7 separate regions of the Homo sapiens genome follow, and all the other regions are linked to region 1. The links are contacts of gene promoters, found by promoter capture Hi-C in human tissues and cell types (Jung and others, 2019). All regions are on one chromosome and are shown on one strand. The core of a region is centred on a gene start or on the middle of the fragment in contact, and the rest is flanking DNA. Distances in the headings are between cores, read along the strand shown.

Evidence for each region. Contacts are between HindIII fragments. The study calls those that stand out against the background at their distance.
Region 2: a fragment that was not itself captured here is called in contact with the fragment with the promoter of MN1 in region 1 in 2 of the 25 tissues and cell types used here (IMR-90 fibroblasts and lymphoblastoid cells).
Region 3: a fragment that was not itself captured here is called in contact with the fragment with the promoter of MN1 in region 1 in 1 of the 25 tissues and cell types used here (dorsolateral prefrontal cortex).
Region 4: a fragment that was not itself captured here is called in contact with the fragment with the promoter of MN1 in region 1 in 3 of the 25 tissues and cell types used here (aorta, dorsolateral prefrontal cortex and mesenchymal stem cells).
Region 5: a fragment that was not itself captured here is called in contact with the fragment with the promoter of MN1 in region 1 in 4 of the 25 tissues and cell types used here (IMR-90 fibroblasts, dorsolateral prefrontal cortex, mesenchymal stem cells and 1 more).
Region 6: a contact is called between a fragment that was not itself captured here and the fragment with the promoter of MN1 in region 1, in 2 of the 25 tissues and cell types used here (dorsolateral prefrontal cortex and lymphoblastoid cells).
Region 7: a fragment that was not itself captured here is called in contact with the fragment with the promoter of MN1 in region 1 in 4 of the 25 tissues and cell types used here (aorta, dorsolateral prefrontal cortex, neural progenitor cells and 1 more).

The regions. Positions count from the first base shown.
Region 1 is chr22:27,800,411-27,803,110 of GRCh38, forward strand. MN1 (MN1 proto-oncogene, transcriptional regulator) reads right to left here and starts at 1,346. Exons shown (of 2, transcript NM_002430.3): 1 at 1-1,346. The coding sequence starts at 133. The HindIII fragment of the contact is 23,630 bases long and covers 1-2,700 here.
Region 2 is chr22:26,987,432-26,990,131 of GRCh38, forward strand. No RefSeq gene overlaps it. Among named protein-coding and RNA genes, the nearest start is that of LINC01422, 85 kb to the left of the region's middle. The HindIII fragment of the contact is 6,951 bases long and covers 1-2,700 here.
Region 3 is chr22:26,906,768-26,909,467 of GRCh38, forward strand. The region is part of intron 2 of LINC01422 (long intergenic non-protein coding RNA 1422); the gene reads left to right. Among named protein-coding and RNA genes, the nearest start is that of LINC01422, 4.8 kb to the left of the region's middle. The HindIII fragment of the contact is 4,697 bases long and covers 1-2,700 here.
Region 4 is chr22:26,881,923-26,884,622 of GRCh38, forward strand. No RefSeq gene overlaps it. Among named protein-coding and RNA genes, the nearest start is that of LINC01422, 20 kb to the right of the region's middle. The HindIII fragment of the contact is 4,128 bases long and covers 1-2,700 here.
Region 5 is chr22:26,803,899-26,806,598 of GRCh38, forward strand. No RefSeq gene overlaps it. Among named protein-coding and RNA genes, the nearest start is that of LINC01422, 98 kb to the right of the region's middle. The HindIII fragment of the contact is 8,411 bases long and covers 1-2,700 here.
Region 6 is chr22:26,857,811-26,860,510 of GRCh38, forward strand. LOC110091768 (a long non-coding RNA gene) reads left to right here and starts at 2,401. Exons shown (of 6, transcript NR_146604.1): 1 at 2,401-2,700. The HindIII fragment of the contact is 5,076 bases long and covers 1-2,700 here.
Region 7 is chr22:27,004,506-27,007,205 of GRCh38, forward strand. No RefSeq gene overlaps it. Among named protein-coding and RNA genes, the nearest start is that of LINC01422, 100 kb to the left of the region's middle. The HindIII fragment of the contact is 8,534 bases long and covers 1-2,700 here.

The DNA of each region.
Region 1 (2,700 bases), core at 96-2,595:
GGGGCCCCCCAGTGTGGAAAGCCGGGGCCTTAAAGTGGGTGTTCATGCTCAGTCCGGTCTCGTTAAAGTTCCTCTCGCCCTGGCCAGCGTTCCTGCTGTTGACCTGGGGCTCGAATTGGTCCAGCCCAAACATACTTGGCGGGGGGCAGAGGGGGATCAATAGGGCATGACAGCCGGCTCTCCGCGGCGCGCCTCCGGCCAGCTACTCGTTCCAGCCCAGGATTGGGCGCTCCGGGACGCTCAGCACCGCGGGGGCTCAGCGCGCACCTCCACCCCGCCTGATGTGAGGGACGGGGGGCGGGGTATTAGCTCCTCTCCTGAAGCTCCGATTCTGCCCGGGGAGGGCCTCTCACATCTTGCGAGGCCGCGGGGCCTCTAGGAGCCGTGTTGGGGGGCCCATGCCCCGGGCGGTTGTCACAGCCGCGGGTGGGTCTGCGGGGAGGGGACGAAGCCGCGGATGAACGGAGACAAAAAGTTAAGTGGGGGGAATGGGGAGGGAAGGGGGTTGGGAGAGCAGAGCGATCACCTTCTCAAGTCCGATTGGGTCTGCTGGGGAGCCCTCAGGACGCCGCCCGCAGCCTCCCGGAGTCCGTGGCAGAGCTGCTAAGGGCAGGGGAGGGAGACCCTTCAAAGCCGCGGCTGGCGCCGGGCACCGACAGAGCGGTCCCTCCCCCCGCCCCCCGGAGTCCCCGCGCCCCGCAGCCCGAGCCTCCACCGAGCACGATCCGCTCGCACAATCCCCGTAGGCTCCGGGCGAGCGGCTGCTGCTTCTTCAGCGGGTCGGAGGACTGGAGGCTCCGCTCGGCATCGCCGGTGCCGGCCCCCGAGCCGAGGACGCAGAGGGGCTGCGAGGCGGCAGGCGCCGGGGGCTGGAGCCGAGGGTCGGGGAAAGGCGCGGCTCCTCTGCTCGGCAGCGGGTGCGCTGCGTTCGGCGCGCAGCTTCGCGGCCACGTCCGCCGCCTGCCGCTTCTGTTCTCCGCCGTTGGGTGTCTGAGTTCGCCGGAGTCTCCGCGCACCGTTGCAGGCGCGGGAGGGCAGCGAGACGAGGGGTTGGGTCGCTCCAAGGCTCCGGTTCCCTGCCTCCGCGCTGAGGTGCTTCGCGAGTCCCTCTCGGACCTGAGGGAGGGGGGCGTACGCGGGTCGGGGGGCCACGCCGGGCGAGCAGGCTAAGGCGTTCCCGCTGCGCTCTCAGAGCCCGGAATGGGGGGAGGGGGGCGCGGGGGCAGCTCTGGGGGGTCTGCGCACCCCTCTCCCGACTAGCGGGGGGGCTCTGCGTGGGGCGTTCCGAGGGTCTCGGCTCCCCTCTCTGTGTCTGCCTCTCGCCCAGCGCCGGGAGAAGCAGCAACAAGTTTTGCATTTCAGCAATCAATTTCAGCCATTACATTTGCACCAATCAGCGCCGCCCAAGTTCCGGGCTCGGGGCGGGGCTCGCTCTTAAGGTGGTCCGGGGTCCTGGCTGCCGAAGCCCCCGCCACGAACCCGCACTACCCCAGCTCTGGGGTCCCCTGCGCCCGCCTCTCCTCGGGGTCCGGCGTCAGTGCGCTGGGGGCGCGCCCCGGCCTCCGGGCGCATCGAGCTGGAGAGGGTGCAGGCGGAGGAGAATGGCGGGAGCTTGGCTTTGTTCACCCCCTTCCCATTCACACTGTTCCCAACTCCCCACCCCCAACTGGAGCGAGACCCACCGGGTGGGCAGGGGGCGGGGAGGTGGGCGGTGAGCGGTACGGGGCGCTCAGACAATGAGGTCGCCAGGCAAAGACCCTAGACTCGCCACGGAAAGTCGCTAAGTGTCTACTGCACTTCGGCTCCGGGGTGAACACTCCGTTCTCCGCTAGCGGCGCCCAAGTTAGCCGGCCCTGGGATTTTCTTGGAGGGTAAAGCAGACGGGGAACCTCGAAGTTAGGGTTCTCCTCGAGAGACCTGGGCGCTTGCTCACTCCTCCGTCACTAGGGCGTTCACAATTGTTCCCCTTCCCCACTGCCTGGGGTTCCCGGTTCTCACCGGCCGGCGTGGGCTCCAAGGAGTCACAGTCACTCAGCCACTTTATGGGGGAGCACATCGGTTGAGCCCAGTAACCGGAGCGACTTGCGAGGCGGCTGGGAACCCCGAGAAGACACGCACGAAGAGGGCGCACCCGCCGGGCCGCACACCTTGCCCTGGGCCACCCGGTCCAAGACCCAGACCCTCTGCGGGTGCGAAGTTGGCCTCCTTAAGAGATCAATTAAACTGAAGAGGCCGAGGAATGGAATTGGGCTGTGATACTAAAATCAATAGGAGTAATTTAATATCTGCCCTGCTCTTTATGAAATATTTATCCCAATAATCTTAGTTAAAATGTTTAGATCGTCCTGATCCCCACAGAGGCTGAAATCTATCTTGCAATTAGAAGTTGGAAGTTAGAGGTGATGGAGGATAGAGGTGTTTATTCTGTGCGCCTGTGTGCGTGTGCTCGCGCCTGCGTGCGTGTGTTTGTGCATGCGTGTGTGTGTGTGTGTGTGTTCCTCCCTAAAGTGTGTGTAGGGAAGGAGGGGGGAGAAGGCCTTTAATTTTCCTTGCCATAAAATAGCACGAGGCGATTTTGCTAGCAGATTCGCATTCTTAGGAGAAGGGCGAAAAAAGAACTTTCTTTGAAGTGCCCCTGATATCGCTATTAAATCTAAATAAAATTAAGCGTGGTGTATGAAAATGCCTTTCCCCCCCCAC
Region 2 (2,700 bases), core at 157-2,656, 810 kb before region 1:
TGGATGGATTGAAGAGTGAGTGGATGAAGGGCTGCATGAGTAGATGGCTAGACTGACTGATGAATGGATGAATGAATGAATGAATGAATAGATGGATGGATGAATAGATGAGTAGATGGATGGGTGAATAGGTGGTTGGATGGATGAATAAATGGGTGGATGGATGGATAGATAAATGGGTAGTTGGGTGGATAGACCGATGAATGGGTGGATGTTTGGAGGAATGAATGGGTGAGTGGATGAATGGATACATGAGCATATGGGTGAATGGGTGGATGAATGGCTGGCTGGCTGGCTGGATGGATAGCTGGGTGGATGAATGGGTGAGTGGATGGGTGGATGGGTGAATGGTTAGATAAATGAACGAATGGAAGGATAGCTGAACTTATTCTGCATATCCTTCTTCAGTTTTTCCTTGACAGTTTTAGATATCAATAAAATAATACAATGTGTAATTTTGTATCTGACTTTTTCATTCTACGTTTTTCTATGTATTAACAACTATAAGTACTTTTGATGGCTGTGTAGTATTCCATTGGGTGGACACTCCCTAATTCACTCAATCAGTTTCCTACTGGTGTGCATTTGAGAAGATGATATTTCATGAAAGTTAAGGCATTGGGCTCCAGCCCTAAGCACCAGGGTTCAGAAATTGCCATACCAGCATCTCAGCAGCATGACCACGTGATTACAGACAGGCTGTGTAATCTCTCTGTGTCTCAGTTTCCTCATCTGTAAAACAATGGTGATAACTTCTGGAGTTCTTATAATGATGAAATCAATTCAAGTAAAATATGGTGAACAGTTCTCGGTACCTAGTGAACACTAATGACTGTTTTCAGTTGTCACTCATACATGATTCAGTGAGGACTGTCCAGGTGGATGGAGCCTTAACTGTATCTCTGACTGTTCTGTCAGGATAGTCAGAGTGTTGCTAGAATTCTAAACCTTAGAATACTCAGGACAGGAGCCGAAACATCTCCTTTTCCACTAATGGACTCACAATTTAAAGTGACCATTCTGCAAAGCATGTCTGTCAGCAACCTGTACTATCATTTCTCTTTCACATTTCTGGCCTTGTCCTCAGATCTTTCCTCCTAACAGTGTGGCAGGAAGAGCCAGGGCTTTGGAGTAAGGGAGGCCTGGAGAATTTTAGAAAGTAACTTTCAGTTTTTGAGCCTTAGTGTTATCCATAAACAGTAGCAAACATGCCCAGATTGCAGGGGTGCTGAGAGAATCAATGGACAAATATATGTCTGGTGTTTGACCTGTGCCAGTGCTCTGACCTCTTATTCCTCAGTGGTCACCATCCTCAGACATGTGCTGAGTGGCCCCTGTGTACCTGGCCACATGTCAGGGGCTTGCCAGGCTGTATCACAGTAAACAAGCAAAGAAAGGAAGGAAGAAAGGCAGGCAGAGAAATGGGTAGATTTTGATTATGGAAACTCAGAGATGCAAAACAGACCTTTTCCTCCTCTTTGCAAGCTTTGGTTCTGAAACGTTCCAATAACATCACCCTTGCAGTCCTCATTTATTTAGCATCAAGAATTTCATGGTAGGTGAGGATGATTCCATGAGATAACTGTTAATACACAGTGAGTAAGCTATTTTGTTTTCCTTTACTGTAAAAAGGGACAGGCCCCGAAGAACCCGAAAGTCACAGAATCAGAGTGTTATGACTGGAGAGGAGCTTGGAGATCGGGTCTTCTTACTCCTAGAGCTGGACAGACCCTCTGTCCTGAGTCACACTGCCTCTGGTTTCCATCATTGATGCTTACTGAACTCAGAAATGAGGTAACTATCACGTGTCCCCCACCTCACCTTACTCCCAAATCTTTTTTCTCATTGCTATGGAGCCTGAAGGCCCTCTTACCAGACTATCACGCTAGGTCACGAAGATGTGTCATGGAGTTTGGGGACCTTTTCATTGGTGTATGTGCATCACAGGGTATGATTCATGTGGATCTTTTTTGCTATTGGGTACACAGAGACTGGCATAGTGCCTGGCCTGGACACATGTAGGGGCCTCATAATTATCTGTTGAATGAATGAGGGAATACATTTTTACCTGGAGAAGGAGCTGCAAGCCTAGAGAGGCCAGCTGCCAAGCCTCCTTCCCTGGCTCCTTCCCTGAAGCCTGTGATATTTAATTAATATGAGCCAAGCAGAGCCCACTTTATGGTGCTGGCCCAGGGGCCACCCATAATTGAGAAATGATAGGAGGCACCTGTGACTTGACCTTGGCTAATGATGAATGGACCCATATAGAGACCAGGAGCCAAGGATTCATGGGCTGGAGCATCCATCCAGAGAGCACATGTGGAAGAAAGGGAAAAGAGATGTTTGTAGCCCTGGTCTGTGATCTCAGAAAGTGGAACAGCTCCTGTGAAATTCTGATGATAGCATTTCCCAGGGGGAACATGCAGAGGTGTTGAGGGCTTGCCAGAAGCCAGGCTGTGGCTGAGCACTTTACAAGGAGCCTTAGAATGACAGTAGGTGCTGGTGTTCTTTATGGGGACTTAGTACATATCTGTTTGTTGAGTAAATAAATGAAAGAATCGAGGGATGCTTTGTAGGGAAGCAGAATAGAAATAGCATCTCACCAGGTGAAGGGGAATGAGCCTTAGACTAGTGCAGCCCTCTCTGCTCCTGCCTTTTGGCTCTGGTGATGTTTTGGGGGTGAAGAGGAGCTCTATGTTG
Region 3 (2,700 bases), core at 135-2,634, 890 kb before region 1:
GTAGGTGCTCAGTTAAAGCTTATGGAAGAAGGGATGGAGAAAGGGCAAGAGACGTAAGTGGGAATTCTAAAGACTCTTCTGTTCAACCCCCGTCAGAGTGATATTTCTTGACCTTGTCACTTAACTGCTCAAAACCTTTCAATGGCTCCCTAGTACCCCTATGTTCTGACTTACAGGGTCCTTCAAGATCTGCACCTGAGGGTGTCTCTAAGGGACTTGGAATGCTCTGAAAGTTTCATATCTCTGCTCCTTGCCTTCCCATGAGCTCCTCCTGTTCTTGGGAGTGCTCACTCCTCTTTCTTGACCCTTCTTCAGTAACCAACTCAAACTCAAACTCAAACTCCTCTGTCCTTGCACCCTTTACCTTTTATCCCTCCAGTGAGAGTTTGGTGTTTATTGTTGGTACCTTATATATAGTCATCCCTGGGTACCCATGAAGGATTGGTTCCAGGACCCCCTGTGGATACCAAAATCCACGAATCCTCAAGTCACTGATACAAAATGACATAGTATTTGCATATAACCTACACAATCCACCTGTATGCTTTAAATCATTTCCAGATTACTTAACAATACCTAATACAATGTAAATGCTATGTAAATACTTGTTATACTCTATTGTTTAGGGAATAATGACAAGAAAAGAAGTCTGTACATGTTCAGCACAACCATTCTTTTTTTTTTTGAGACAGTGTCTGTCTCTGTCACTCAGGCTGGGGTTCAGTGGCTCCACTATAGCTCACTACATCCTCCACCTCCTGGGCTCAAGAGGTTCTCCCACTCAGCCTCCTGAGTTGCTAGAACTGTAGGCATGCACCACCACACCCAGCCTATTTTTTGATTTTTTTGGAGAGGCAGGATCTTGCTTTGTTGCCTAGGCTGATCTCAAATTCCTGAGCTCAAGCAATTCTCCTGCCTCGGCCTCCCAAAGTGCTGGGATTATAGGTGTGAACCACTGCGCCTGGCTGAAAATACTTATTATGTTACATCTTCTTATGTTACATTGAGTGGGTAAGTGAGTGAGAATCCTTAAATATAACAGAGAAACAGAAAACTAGGGGCCTGTAGATTGTGTTGCTTTACAAGATTCAGGTGAATTGCTTTTTGACTCTTCCAATAAGCTCTCAAGTATATTTAACATTTTTTTTTTTTTTTTTTTTTTAACAGAAGTGGTGTCTCACTATGTTAGGCCAGGCTGGTCTCCAACTCCTGGCCTCAAGTGATCCTCCCCCTCCAGCCTCCCAAAGTGCTGGGATTACAGGCATGATATACTGCGCCTGGCCTGCAACCGTCCTTTTTTCCCCCTGATTATTTTCGATGTGTTGTTGGTTGAATCCACAAATGCAGAATCCAAGAATATGGAGGGCCAACTGTATGTCTGCCTTAGAGGGCTCCACAGGTTGCCTCATTTGCTTCCCTGTTGCCACCAGAAGATCATGCACCACTGGGCGGCATGGTCTGGAGAGTCCCATTCATCTTCATCGGGGCCTGAACAGAGAAACTGACAAATTAAAGATAATTGAATGACATAATGAATGGGTGCAAATTGGGTTGGTCCCTCACCATCTCCACTTCTTAGCCATGTTGGATCTGCCAAGTCAATTACCACCATTGCCTTCTCACTTCCCCATTTCCAAACCTCATGACTGTTACCTTTTCCTCCGTTCTCCTTGTCCTTATGAGTTTATGCCTTTAAAACAAATCCTGTATTATAATAGTATTGTCTTTTAGGGAAGGAAATATATTAGAGGAGTGTGTTCAATCTACCATCTTTCCTGGAAGTCAGTAACAAATGAAAGGAAATTTACCTGATAGATTGTGGGCAAGTCACTTCTCTCCGTACGGTCTCTAATTCTTCACCTGTGGCATGAGGAAGTTGGGCTGGATGAGTTCTAGGGTCCAGCCAAAGTCTGCGAGGGGGTCAGCGCTGGATTAGAGATGTCTGGTGGACCGTGGGCATGGATTTTACATAACAGCAGTCACTCTCTGGGATCCCTACTCTGGCCAGTGCTCCCCTTGGACTGCTAATTCTCTTTCCACACATTCAGGTTCTGACTCCCAAACTCTGAGGACGATGGCAGGTTCTGAGGTCCCTCCCATCTTGTACAACTCACAGTGACAGTAACTGTCTCAGCCTGTTCGGGCTGCTTATAACAAAGGAGCATGGACTGGGTGGCTCATAAACAACAGGAATTTATTTGAGGCATGCTACCCCAAACATCACAAGTCCACTCCCTGTCTGGGAAGCAGAAGGCTGAAAGTCCTACATCAGGGCCAGCAGAATTGATTCTGATGGGGGTTTTCTTCCAGGTCGCAGACTATCGACTTCTTGCTGTATCCTCACATGGTGGAAAGGGTGCTGGGGAGCCCCATGCGGTTTCTTTAATGAGGGCACTAATTCTGTTCATGAGGGCTCCACCCTCATGACCTAATCACCCCCACAGGTCCAGCCTCCTAACAGCATCGTGCTGGGGGTAAGGATTTCAATATATGATTTTTGGGAGAACACGTTCAGTCCGTAGCAGTGACTGACACTTGTCCAGTTCAGTGGCTTACTCAGAGACCTCACCTTGACCTAATGCTTGTGCCAACCTGGTGAGAAATCTGGAATCCCATTCCACAGATTAGAAATCTGAGGTTTAGAGAGGGGAGGGGACTCACCTAAGGCCACGGAGCAAGTCAGTAAGGACCCAAGCTGGC
Region 4 (2,700 bases), core at 32-2,531, 920 kb before region 1:
AATGAGGTGCGATGGTCAGGAGAGGGGATAATAATAGATTTTGTACAATGTTTAATGGATATTAGACTTTTAAGTCTAACATTTTTTTCTTCTTCTGCCAACTTTGGTCATTTTTATTTCTTTCAAATCATTTTATTTAAGTTTCAAATGTATTGGTAAGTATGCTGCTTGTAGTATTTTTTTTTTTTTTTTGAGACAGGGTCTTGCTTTGTCGCCCAGGCTGGAGTGGTGGCACGATCTCGGCTCACTGCAAGCTCTGCCTCCCGGGTTCACACCATTCTCCTGCCTCAGCCTCCTGAGTAGCTGGGACTACAGGTGCCTGCCACCATACCTGGCTGATTTTTTTGTATTTTTAGTAGAGACGGGGTTTCACTGTGTTAGCCAGGATAGTCTCGATCTCCTGACCTCATGATCCGCCCGCCTCAGCCTCCCAAAGTGCTGGGATTACAGGCATGAGCCACCATGCCCTGTCTGCTTGTAGTATTTTTGAAATAATTTGTAAAAGCTCTCCTGTTTTTGTAGTTAAAAGACTTATGCTGTATAACTCTCCCTTCTCACTCCCTTTCTCCATTTTTTTCTTAATCAGACTTGCTAGAGGCTTTATTTATTTAAAAAGTATGTTTTGTTTTGTTTGTCTTTGAGACAGGGTCTGGCTCTGTTGCCCAGGCTGGAGTGCAGTGGCATGATCTTGGCTCACTGCAAGCTTTGCTTCACAGGCTGAAGCCAACTGAGTGGCTGGGACTACAGGCACATGCCACACCCGGCTAACTTTGTATTCTTTTTGTAGAGATGGGGTTTCACTATGTTGCCCAGGCTGGTCCTGAACTCCTGAGCTCAAGTGACCAGCCTGCCTCGGCCTCCCAGAGTGCTGGGATTACAGGTGTGAGCCACCGCTCCTGACCAAAAGTATTTTTTGTGCTTGTGGATATTCTCCATTGTTCCAATGTCTTGGGGTCAGAGTGTTGGCAATTGTCTTGCTGGTAGCCAGATTTGAGGATGACGAGTTTGCCCAAGGGAGACAATATTATAGTAAACAGTAATTGCGTGGCATCATTAAGTCCTTAAGGACAGGAATGGGGCATTATTCATCCTTTGATCTTCAGTATCCAGCACATGTAGAGAGCTCCATGATGCTTTGCAAATTGATGAATAGGATAGGACCGACAGAGATGCCAGAATTGCATACAAACCGTGTGACCTTTGCAATATCCACCCCCTAATACCTCATTGCCATCTCTGCAGCCAGTAAACTAGATTTTAGCAGAGATGGAAAGACCATTTATTTGGGTCATACTTCCTCAAATGCAAAATGGCTCCATCCATTGTGGGTTTTGGCCCTAAAATATAGAGCTTTCCAGAGCAGTTCTATTTGTTGGACAGGAAATGGCTCTACACCCTTCTCAATAGATGGATACCAATCAGTTTCATTCCAGCCAAGCCAAGCCAACTAAACCCAACGAAATCTACTTAACCCAATTCAATCCACATCAATTCAACTGAAATAAACCGACATAACCCAACTTAGTACAACCTCACCACCGACACAATACAACCCCATTCAACTTGACCTTATTCAGCAAAAACCATTGAACCCAACAAATTCCAACAAATTACATTTCAACATGATGCAACAGACCACTTCTCAGCCACCTAAGTCAACCCAATACAAGCCAATCCAAGTCAGCACAACTCCCAGCACAAGATAGTCCCACAACCCAATGAAATTCAATCTAGCGCAATTTAATAAACTGTTTCAACAACTCTTTTGTCTAAGGAAGGTAAGGTACTTTGGACAGAAGACCAAAATAATGTCTCTTAAATGTCTATTTGTTTACCATTCGTGTTTAATGGAACTCTTGAAATTATAGCCTCTCCAAATCTCCTCAGTGTGTGAGGTAACTGAAACTCAGGAATTAAAGCCGCCTCCCCTCTCTGGCCCCTGAATCCTCACACTTTATTTTATGGAGTTACTGGTCTCATCTGAACTAGATTGTGAGTGCTTGGGGGCAGAAACGGTGTCAAATTCATCTCCCTTCAGTACCTTTAGATGGGCATCAAGAAAATATAGTTTAAACGTATAAATGACTAGAAGTTTGTGAAGCTTATTCAGTTTTGGAGGTCAGTAGCGTTTTATCCCCTTTGGGGACCTGGCTGAGGAGGATTGTCAGGAGGGCCCACAGACGGACCTAGGTTTGACTCCTGGCTTTGCCACCTACTATCTGTGTGCCCTTGGGCAAGTCATACCACCTTTCTGGGGCTCAGTTTCCTTGTTCATAAAGTGAGGGATGTATTACTGACTCTAGGGCTGTTCTGGGGATAAATATTGAGTTGACACATGTGAAGCACTTCCACCATATCTGACATATAATTGAGGATGCATAAATACCTACTATATTTTTTTCCCTGAGTTTCCTTGTTCAGCATTTTCTTTTAGTGACTTGGGGACAGCAGCCTCTGTGGACCAGAAAATTTCAAAACTCTCTCTGGATCCCTTGTAGGATAATACCCTCTCTTGTGATAATTTCATTGGCATAATTGTCAAATAACCACCATTTGTTTTGTATTTTACTATGGTTCTTTAGCTCAAATAAGCCTGCAAATGATTGATCTGGTGGAAGTATGAATTTATACATATAAATAATTAGGGTACAACACACTGTGAGAATCACAATCATTTGGACACCCACTGTTTCCCAGGAT
Region 5 (2,700 bases), core at 163-2,662, 1.0 Mb before region 1:
AGGACTGAAACTCAGTGCCATCCCACCTTGAACCTTCTGTCTGAGAGGGTTGCCTGCAAGGAACTGATGGGGATGCCCCAGGAGGGATGGGACCCCCAAATGAGAGCATGCAGAGTGGGTGCTGATGAGATGTGAGGATCACCCAGGAGCACTGCAGTAGGGCCTGGGTAGGAGGTGGGAAGAGGAACAGTGAGGACATCTCTGTATTTGGAGAAGCCGCCATGATGGAGTCAGCCAACCTCACACCTAATTCTGGGGTTCCCAGGATAGTGGAATTTCCTAACTCTTCTCTGCCCCGTTCCCTCACGGGAAGAAATTTGCCAGAGATCGTAATAGGCATGGGGGCAGACAGACCTGAATTCAAATGCTGGTTCTGGGTAAGTGATTTAAAACTGCAGATTTCTCATCAATGACATGGGCATAATAACACCAGCTTTCAAGTGAGAGCCTTGGGGGCTACTGAAGGTAAGTTACACATGCTTCGTAAACTGTAAAGTGTTGTGTGGATGTGAGGTTCTGGTCGTTATCTGTTCATGTGTCTGTCTTCACTACACACTTTGAGCACCCAGTGAGCAAAGCCCTTGTCTGACTCCATCCTGTATACAGTTGGTGCTCAATAAATGTCAAAGGCATGACCCGTTGTGTGGGTTATAGTTCGTTTTGTTTATTCCCTTTGGGAATAGGTAGCTGACTGTGACCTAGTCTGGGACTTCAGGAGTGTTTCCAAGATGATTACTAATAACAACAAGGTCAACAGCTTATTTTATGAAGCACTTTATATGTGTTTGGTTCATCTCATCCTCACAGCAACCCCATGATATATATACTGGTGTCATCCCTACTTTACAGATGAGGAAAGGGAGATGTTGTATTACTTGCCCAAGGTCACACAGCACCTAAGTCGGGGAGGTGGGACTCAAATCTCAGTTTGGGTCTTTCCGACTCCCAAATGGGGCCCCCCCAACCACTGGGGGACCCTGCTGCCAAAGTTTCCTGTCCCCAGGCCTGGATAGAAGACAGAACAATGTGGAGTCTGTTGTCATCTGGGCACTCACATCCACTAATAATACAGTCAATTGCTCCTTTCAAATTACAGTAAATGTTTCCCCCCTTTGAACAAATCATTTACCGCAACTGCAGAAAGAGTGTCCTGTTTACATGCAGGGCCAAAGGAATTCCAATCTGAGTCTAATTATCGATGCTGAAGCTTCTGTGGCCTTGGGAAAGAGCTGCCTAATTGCACCAATTAATACCTGCCACTCGTATGGGCTTCGTCAGGTTCAAGGTTTGGTTTTCTTCCTCTGCGGGTTGTGGGGACGAGACGGGTTAGTGCAGCCACTGCGGGTTCAGATCTCCAGACCATGGACTGGGTGCACAAAGGGATTTTGTTTTCAGGCTATTGCCATTTTTGGAGGGGGCAGCTTTATTTGGGGCCACCCAGGCACTTGGCCAGACCTCACCGTGGCAGGGACTGCCTTTTGCAGGAGAATGAGGGGCCTGAGGGATGAGGTTTCCAGGTTTCCTGTTGCGACTCTGACTCACACTGAGATCCTCGGCAGGGCGGGTCTCCTGCTGGAGCCCCAGTTTCCCCATGCAGAAATGGGAAGATTTATGGGATCAGATGTAACATCTGCAATTGCAGTGCAAACCCAATGAGGCTAGACAGGCTGAGGAATTTTTACTAAAAACGGGAGGGCAGCAGTTGGGCGGCAGGTGACCCAGGCTCTAGCCTTGGCTCCACCTGTTACTTTCTGTGTAGCTTTAAAACAATACCTTTGCCTCTCTGAACCTCAATTTCCCCAGCTGCAAAATGGGGATGATTCCACCTTCTCTCTCTGATGCTTGTGTGGAAACCTTGCAAAGAACATCTTGGCCCATAAATATGGAGGCTGTGATCATCCCATGGTGCTGATGAGTTGCTTGATGAATTGCCGTATTGGAAGAGGAAAACCGTCAGGAACTGGCTGGGTGGCAGATAGGGTGCTGGGTGGGAGTGGGGAGGCAGAGAAAAGTTCATGGGCTTTTACATGAAACTGGGTTTGAATTTTACCTCCAACTCTTCTGAGCTCTGTGGTCTTTGATAATAACAATTACAAGAATCTGTATTGATTTTTGCTGCGTATCAGGTATTGTGTGATAAGGTATCATTTTTATACCCGTTTTACAGATGAAGAGGCTGAGGCTCAGAGAGATCAAATAAGTTTCTCAAAGTGACACAGCCTGAGATTGGAAGAGCCAGGATTAGGTCCTAGTTCCCTGTGATTTCAGAGCCTGTGCATGCAGCTCTTACACCTTCCTACCTTCAGTTGCCTCAGTCTCCCCACCTGTATAAGGAGCTAATGGTAACTTCTTCCAAGCAAACAGGTTGCTAGGATTGGGCAAGATTAGTTATATGAGACGGAAGGCCCATAGTGTGGCACCTGAGAGCCACATGGCCACAGAAGCTACAATTCTACATGAATGGTGTGGATTGGGAGACTCAGCCATTGTCTCACCCTCCCATTCATTTGAACTCCATAAGGACTGGTGGGAAACGTGGCTGTTTACTTTTCTAACAGGTAAAGCAGGGGAGTGGGTTGGGGCCATTTTCATTCTCCCACAGCCCCCTTTGCTGAAGATTCCCAATCTTTGATTTCCCCAGCACCCCTGGGGTTTGCAGTCCCACCTGAGTGCGTTTGGGATTGTTTTCTGATGTGACAT
Region 6 (2,700 bases), core at 126-2,625, 940 kb before region 1:
CGCTGGCACAAATAAAGGCACATTTATTTACTTGAGGGGTTACATGTTAAGTCACGGAGGCACAGATTCTAGAGGAGCCAGTAGCAGGGCCTGAGCTTGGTCCAGGGTTGGCCAGGAAGCTCTTTCCTGCAGAAGTAATGCTTGCACTCAGGACCAAAAGATGACCAGGTGAAGAGTCACCTCACTCCTTGAAACCTCAGTTTCCTTCTTTGTAAAGTGGGATGATAGTAACACCTACATTCCAGGATATTTGTGAGGATAAACTGAGATGACACAGGTGAAAATGAGTAGTACGGAGTCTGGTACATAGTCAGTGCCCATCGTATCATGGCTTTGGCCATAGTCCCTCGATGTGAAGTGAAGTTCCCATAGATTGGAAGGCCTATCGTTGACTTAGAAACTGCTGCCCAAGGGACAAAGAAGAATGCAAGCCCACTATGTGAAATGGAAGCACACAGAAAAGGAAGGGCCTCACTCTGCTCTCTCTCTTCTGTGTGTGTGTGTGTGTGTGTGTGTGTGTGTGTGTGTGTGTGTATGATGAGAAGTTTGCACAGAGAAGCTGGTGTTTAGGCCAGGTCCTGAATGGTAGATAGCAGTTTACAAGAGAAAAGGGGGAGGAAGGGTGTCAGAGATAAAAGGAACATCAATGCAAAGTGATACAAGGATGAGAATGAGTGTCATCCGCCTTGTCAGATGCCTGGGGAAATTCCAATGGGCACATGGAACAGATCCCCAAACAAAACAACCTTTAATAACACAATACTATTACTCCTAATGGCAATAACGGCAAAAGCAATAATCACAATGACCACAATAGCAACAGCCGTTACCATGCATTGACAGGTTACTCTCTTTCAGGCACTGTACATGGGTAACTTCACCTGAAATGCTGAAAATAAATCTTGCTCATTCTTTCCTGGGATATAGTGAATGACTTCATGCCCTACATTGTATGGGCTACCCACATAGGTGAGGAATTGAGGATACAGCCATGGAGGATTTTTCTGTTAAACCTCAGAAGGGATGCTCTCAATTTCTGCAAGGCTCTCCTGGGCAACATGAACGGTCCAGACAAGTTCATTCATTTTTTTGTTTTTCTGGAGGGTTAAATGGGGGATAGAGTATTCAGGAGGTAGGTTTAGCTCAGTCCAAGGATGGCTACAAAGAGCTGTGGTAGGTAGTGCTCTGACAAAGAGTTCCCTGTCGTGGGGATATTCAAGTGTAACTCAGTTAATTTCTTGTTGGGGATGTTCTGAGCATGGTCAGAACAAAGAGAAAGGGAAATTCAGGGGGAATTGGTCTAGAAGATCCCTTCAATTCCAGGATGCTGTGGTTTCAGGAAGGCAGGAATGATCTACCATGAAAGGTTTTTACAACAGTAGGAAACATCATCATCTTGGCTTTGCCTGTCTCCAGGAGGCTTGAATGTGATTTGCATAACCACAGGGGGATGGATGTCTTGATCTTTCACAGTTTTTTTCCAGCCCTTAGAATCATTCTGGTCTTTGCTTGCAACCTCCTTTAGAACCATATCCTGAGCCACCTCCATCCTTCTCCCAAATTATTGTAACAACTTCTGAGTAGGTCCCCTAGCACTCTATAATCTACCCTCCACACAGAAGCAAAAGCTATCATATAAAATAAAAATCGGATATATTTTCCCCCTACAGTTGTAACTTATGACCATAGCCGTCCCCAACCCAACTGGTTCTCCCATTCCACCTCCCCTCACCTAATGTGCACAAACCACTCTCCCTTCTTTTCTGACTCACAAACATTCAGGGCTTTTGCCTTTCCTCTGTCTGAGCCCTCTTCCCCTAGGACTTTGCAAGGCCAGTTTTTTTCTCATCGTTAAATTCCCAGCTCAACTGTCACCCCAGACAGGGCTCTCTGACCAGTCTCCAGTCACTCCATCCGGACGACCCTTTTAATTTTCCTTTCAGCATTTATCTAGCTGGGCCTGGTGATGTGTGTCTGTAGTTTCAGCCACTCGGGAGGCTGAGGAAGGAGGATTGCTGGAGCCCAGGAGTTCAAGGCTGCAGTGAGCTGTGATCATCACTTTGCTCCAGTCTGGATGACAGAGCGAGACCCTGTCTCTAAAACATAAATAAATAGGCCAGGTTTGGTGGCTCATGCCTGTAATCCCAGCACTTTTGGAGGCTGAAGCCAGTGGATTGTTTGAGCCCAGGAATTTGAGACCAGCCTGGACAACAGGTGAAACCCTGTTTCTAGGAAAAGCAAAAATTAGCCAGGCATAGTGGTACATACCTGTGGTCCCAGATACTCAGGAGGCTGATGTGAAAGGACCACCTGAGCCTGGGAAGTTGAGGCTGCAGTGAGCTGAGACTGCTCCACTGAACTCTAGCCTGGGCGGCAGAGTGAGACCCTGTCTCTAAATACATAAATAAAATAAGTAAAGCACTTTTCAGTATCTTTCTGGAATTCTTATCTATTTGTTAACATATGTATGGTCTTTTTCTGCTGCTGAGAGGTGAAGCCAGCTGGACTTCCTGGCTCGAGTAGGGACTTGGAGAACTTTTCTGTCTAGTTAGAGGTTTGTAAATGCACCAATCAGCGCTTTGTGTCTAGCCAAAGGATTGTAAATGCACCAATCAGCAACTCTGTAAAATGGACCAATCAGCACTCTGTAAAATGGACCAATCAGCACTCTGTAAAATTGACCAATCAGCAGGATGTGGG
Region 7 (2,700 bases), core at 10-2,509, 800 kb before region 1:
CAATGTTTCAAGCTTCCATGTACCTCTGCCCTTTGCCATGTGACTTTGAGGCCCTTCCTACTAGAGGTGGGGCTTATTTCCTCATCCAGTTGTTACTGGGCTTGGTCATGTGACTTAATTTGACCAATGATCCCTGAGCAGACATAATGCAAAGGGAAGATTTAAATATACTGTGTGGTTTGCCTTGGCTTCTTGCAGTCCTGTTATTTGCATGAGAACAGCATGCCCCAGGTACATGCCGGTCTATGGAGGAAGAGAGAGAGGTGAAGCAGCCTAGAGTCAAATGCAGTCAATCTGTAGGGCTTCTGAGTAAGAAAAATAAATGCTTTTTGCCAGTAATTGAGATTTTTGGGATTATTTGTTACACAGCAAACACTGAGTAATAAAATAGCTAGACTCAGGTGTTTATAAACAAAGGTTTACCTTCATGAATGTTCTATAGAACATTTAAAATTTATGTGTGACTCAGGGTGATTCTTTAGTGAGTGCGAATTACAGTATGACTAGAGTCTCTGGCTTCTGCCACTTCAATATCAATGTTGACCTTTCAATATGGGAACTAGACAGTGAAGCTCTGCCTTACCAGACCACACATACTCTTCGTTATACACATTATAACCTCCACTTCACTATTCTGAATTGAAAATCATACATTTCATCTACATATACATGTAATTTCAAAAAAGTTAATATAATGCCCTAACTGTAAGGGAGGAATAAAATGAAAGCAATTTATAATAAAATAATATCTATTTTAATATGTAAATTATCAAAAACCACTATATGCCAGGAAACATGATGAAGCGGTCTGATGCTTGTGTCTACTTATAATGAGTAAGTTGAAATTTCAGACAAATATTCAATTGAATATTGTCGACATTTTTTTCTCTATTTTTGACATTTTGAAATAAGAGCTAAATTAGTATATTCATATATATGGGTAGTGTCACTGTGAATAGGACTGCAAAAGTCGACTGACACAGGTGTGCAGGCAGCAATTCACGTTCCACGATCAACTTTGAGGTCGATGCCTGGATTTTCCAAAGTGAAAAACAACTCTTGTTGGGGTTTTGGATAAAACAAAGTATTCCCTTCCCCCAATTTACACTGCAACTACATTCAAGGAAAATCCCATGTAAAGCAAATCTGTGCCAAAACATTTAGCTGTATGTAAGACGGATTTAAATTCTAGGCTCAGATAATTATTAAGGAGGAATTATATCTACATGAATGCCCAGAAGGGCACTCAAAATTCCTGAGGCACTTGGGGCCATTCTTCTTGCTGTGGGACTGTCTTGGGAATTGCATGTCCTGCATTGCTGATGTAATTCTCCCCAATTACTAGGACGGATCTTCTCAAAGTTAGTACCATTGACATCTTGGATCAGATCAGATTAAGTCGTTATTGTAGGGGGTTTTCCTGTGCATTGTGGGATGTTTAGCAACCTCCCCGGTTTCTGTGATGCCAGAAACATCTCCCCCTTAAGTTATGACAATCAAAAATATCTCTAGATATTGCCAATGTCTCCTGAGGGTGCAAAATATCCACTTGTTGAGCACCACTGGGATAAGATAATAGAAAATGCTTCACATCCTACATTCCTAAAATTCCCCTTAGGAGATGCTACTAACTCCATTAAGATACACTTGTCCAGGAAGCCCTGGATTTTATTGTATTATTTCATTCCAATACCAGAAATTGAGCACTTATGTTGTGTCAGGTGTCATTGATGTAGCAAGGAATATGACGATCTTTTAACTCTTTGGGTTCAAAGACTATCCTTCTGCCTCCCCTCTGCTGTCCTTGCTCACAGTGGGAAGATGGCCCCCCAGGGAGTTGGGAGCTGGGACTGGATTGTGGAAAGCCTTGAATGTCAAGCCAAGGAGTGGTCAAACCTCAGAATTAGGATGAATCTTAAGAAACGTCTGGTTGGCCGGGCGCAGTGGCCCACGCCTGTAATCCCAGCATTTTGGGAGGCCCAGGCGGGTGGATCATTTGAGATCAGGAGTTCAAGACCAGCCTATCCAGCAGGGTGAAACCCCACCTCTACTAAAAATACAAAAATTAGCTGGGTGTGGTGGCAGGTGCCTGTAATCCCAGCTACTTGGGAGACTGAGGCAGGAGAATCACTTGAGCCTGGGAAGTGAAGGTTGTGGTGAGCCGAGATTGCACCAATGCACTCCAGTCTGGGTGACAGAGTGAGACCCTGTCACAAAAAAAGAAACATCTGGTCCCCCAGTGGCCATGTCCACCAAAACAAGACCTTCTTCTGAGGTGATGGTGTCCCCTGTAGATCCCTTAAAAAGGAAAAAAATACAAGGGGAGAGTTAGGTTATTCCAAGATCAGATAGTAGAAGGGCGGGGGAAGAGGTGCAGAATTTAACTGCAGTCTGCGGCAGCTCCTTCTCATTTCCTTTCCCCTGCTGGGCTATGAGAGTTACTATCTTACAGAACTTTCTCAATCCCTTGCATGGCAAGGAGTATTATTCTCATTTTACAGATGATAACACTGAGCCTCAGGTAGGGAAAGTCATTTGCCAAAGGTCACTGAGCCTGTAAATGTCACAACTGGAATTTGAACCAAATTCCCCAGAGATTCGGCCAAGTGCTAGTACCTCTTATGTGGTGACTGGACGAGTCTCCTTAATGGTTTCATTGAGTCCATGTTAGTCACCCCACCTATTGGTCCTTCACTCCAC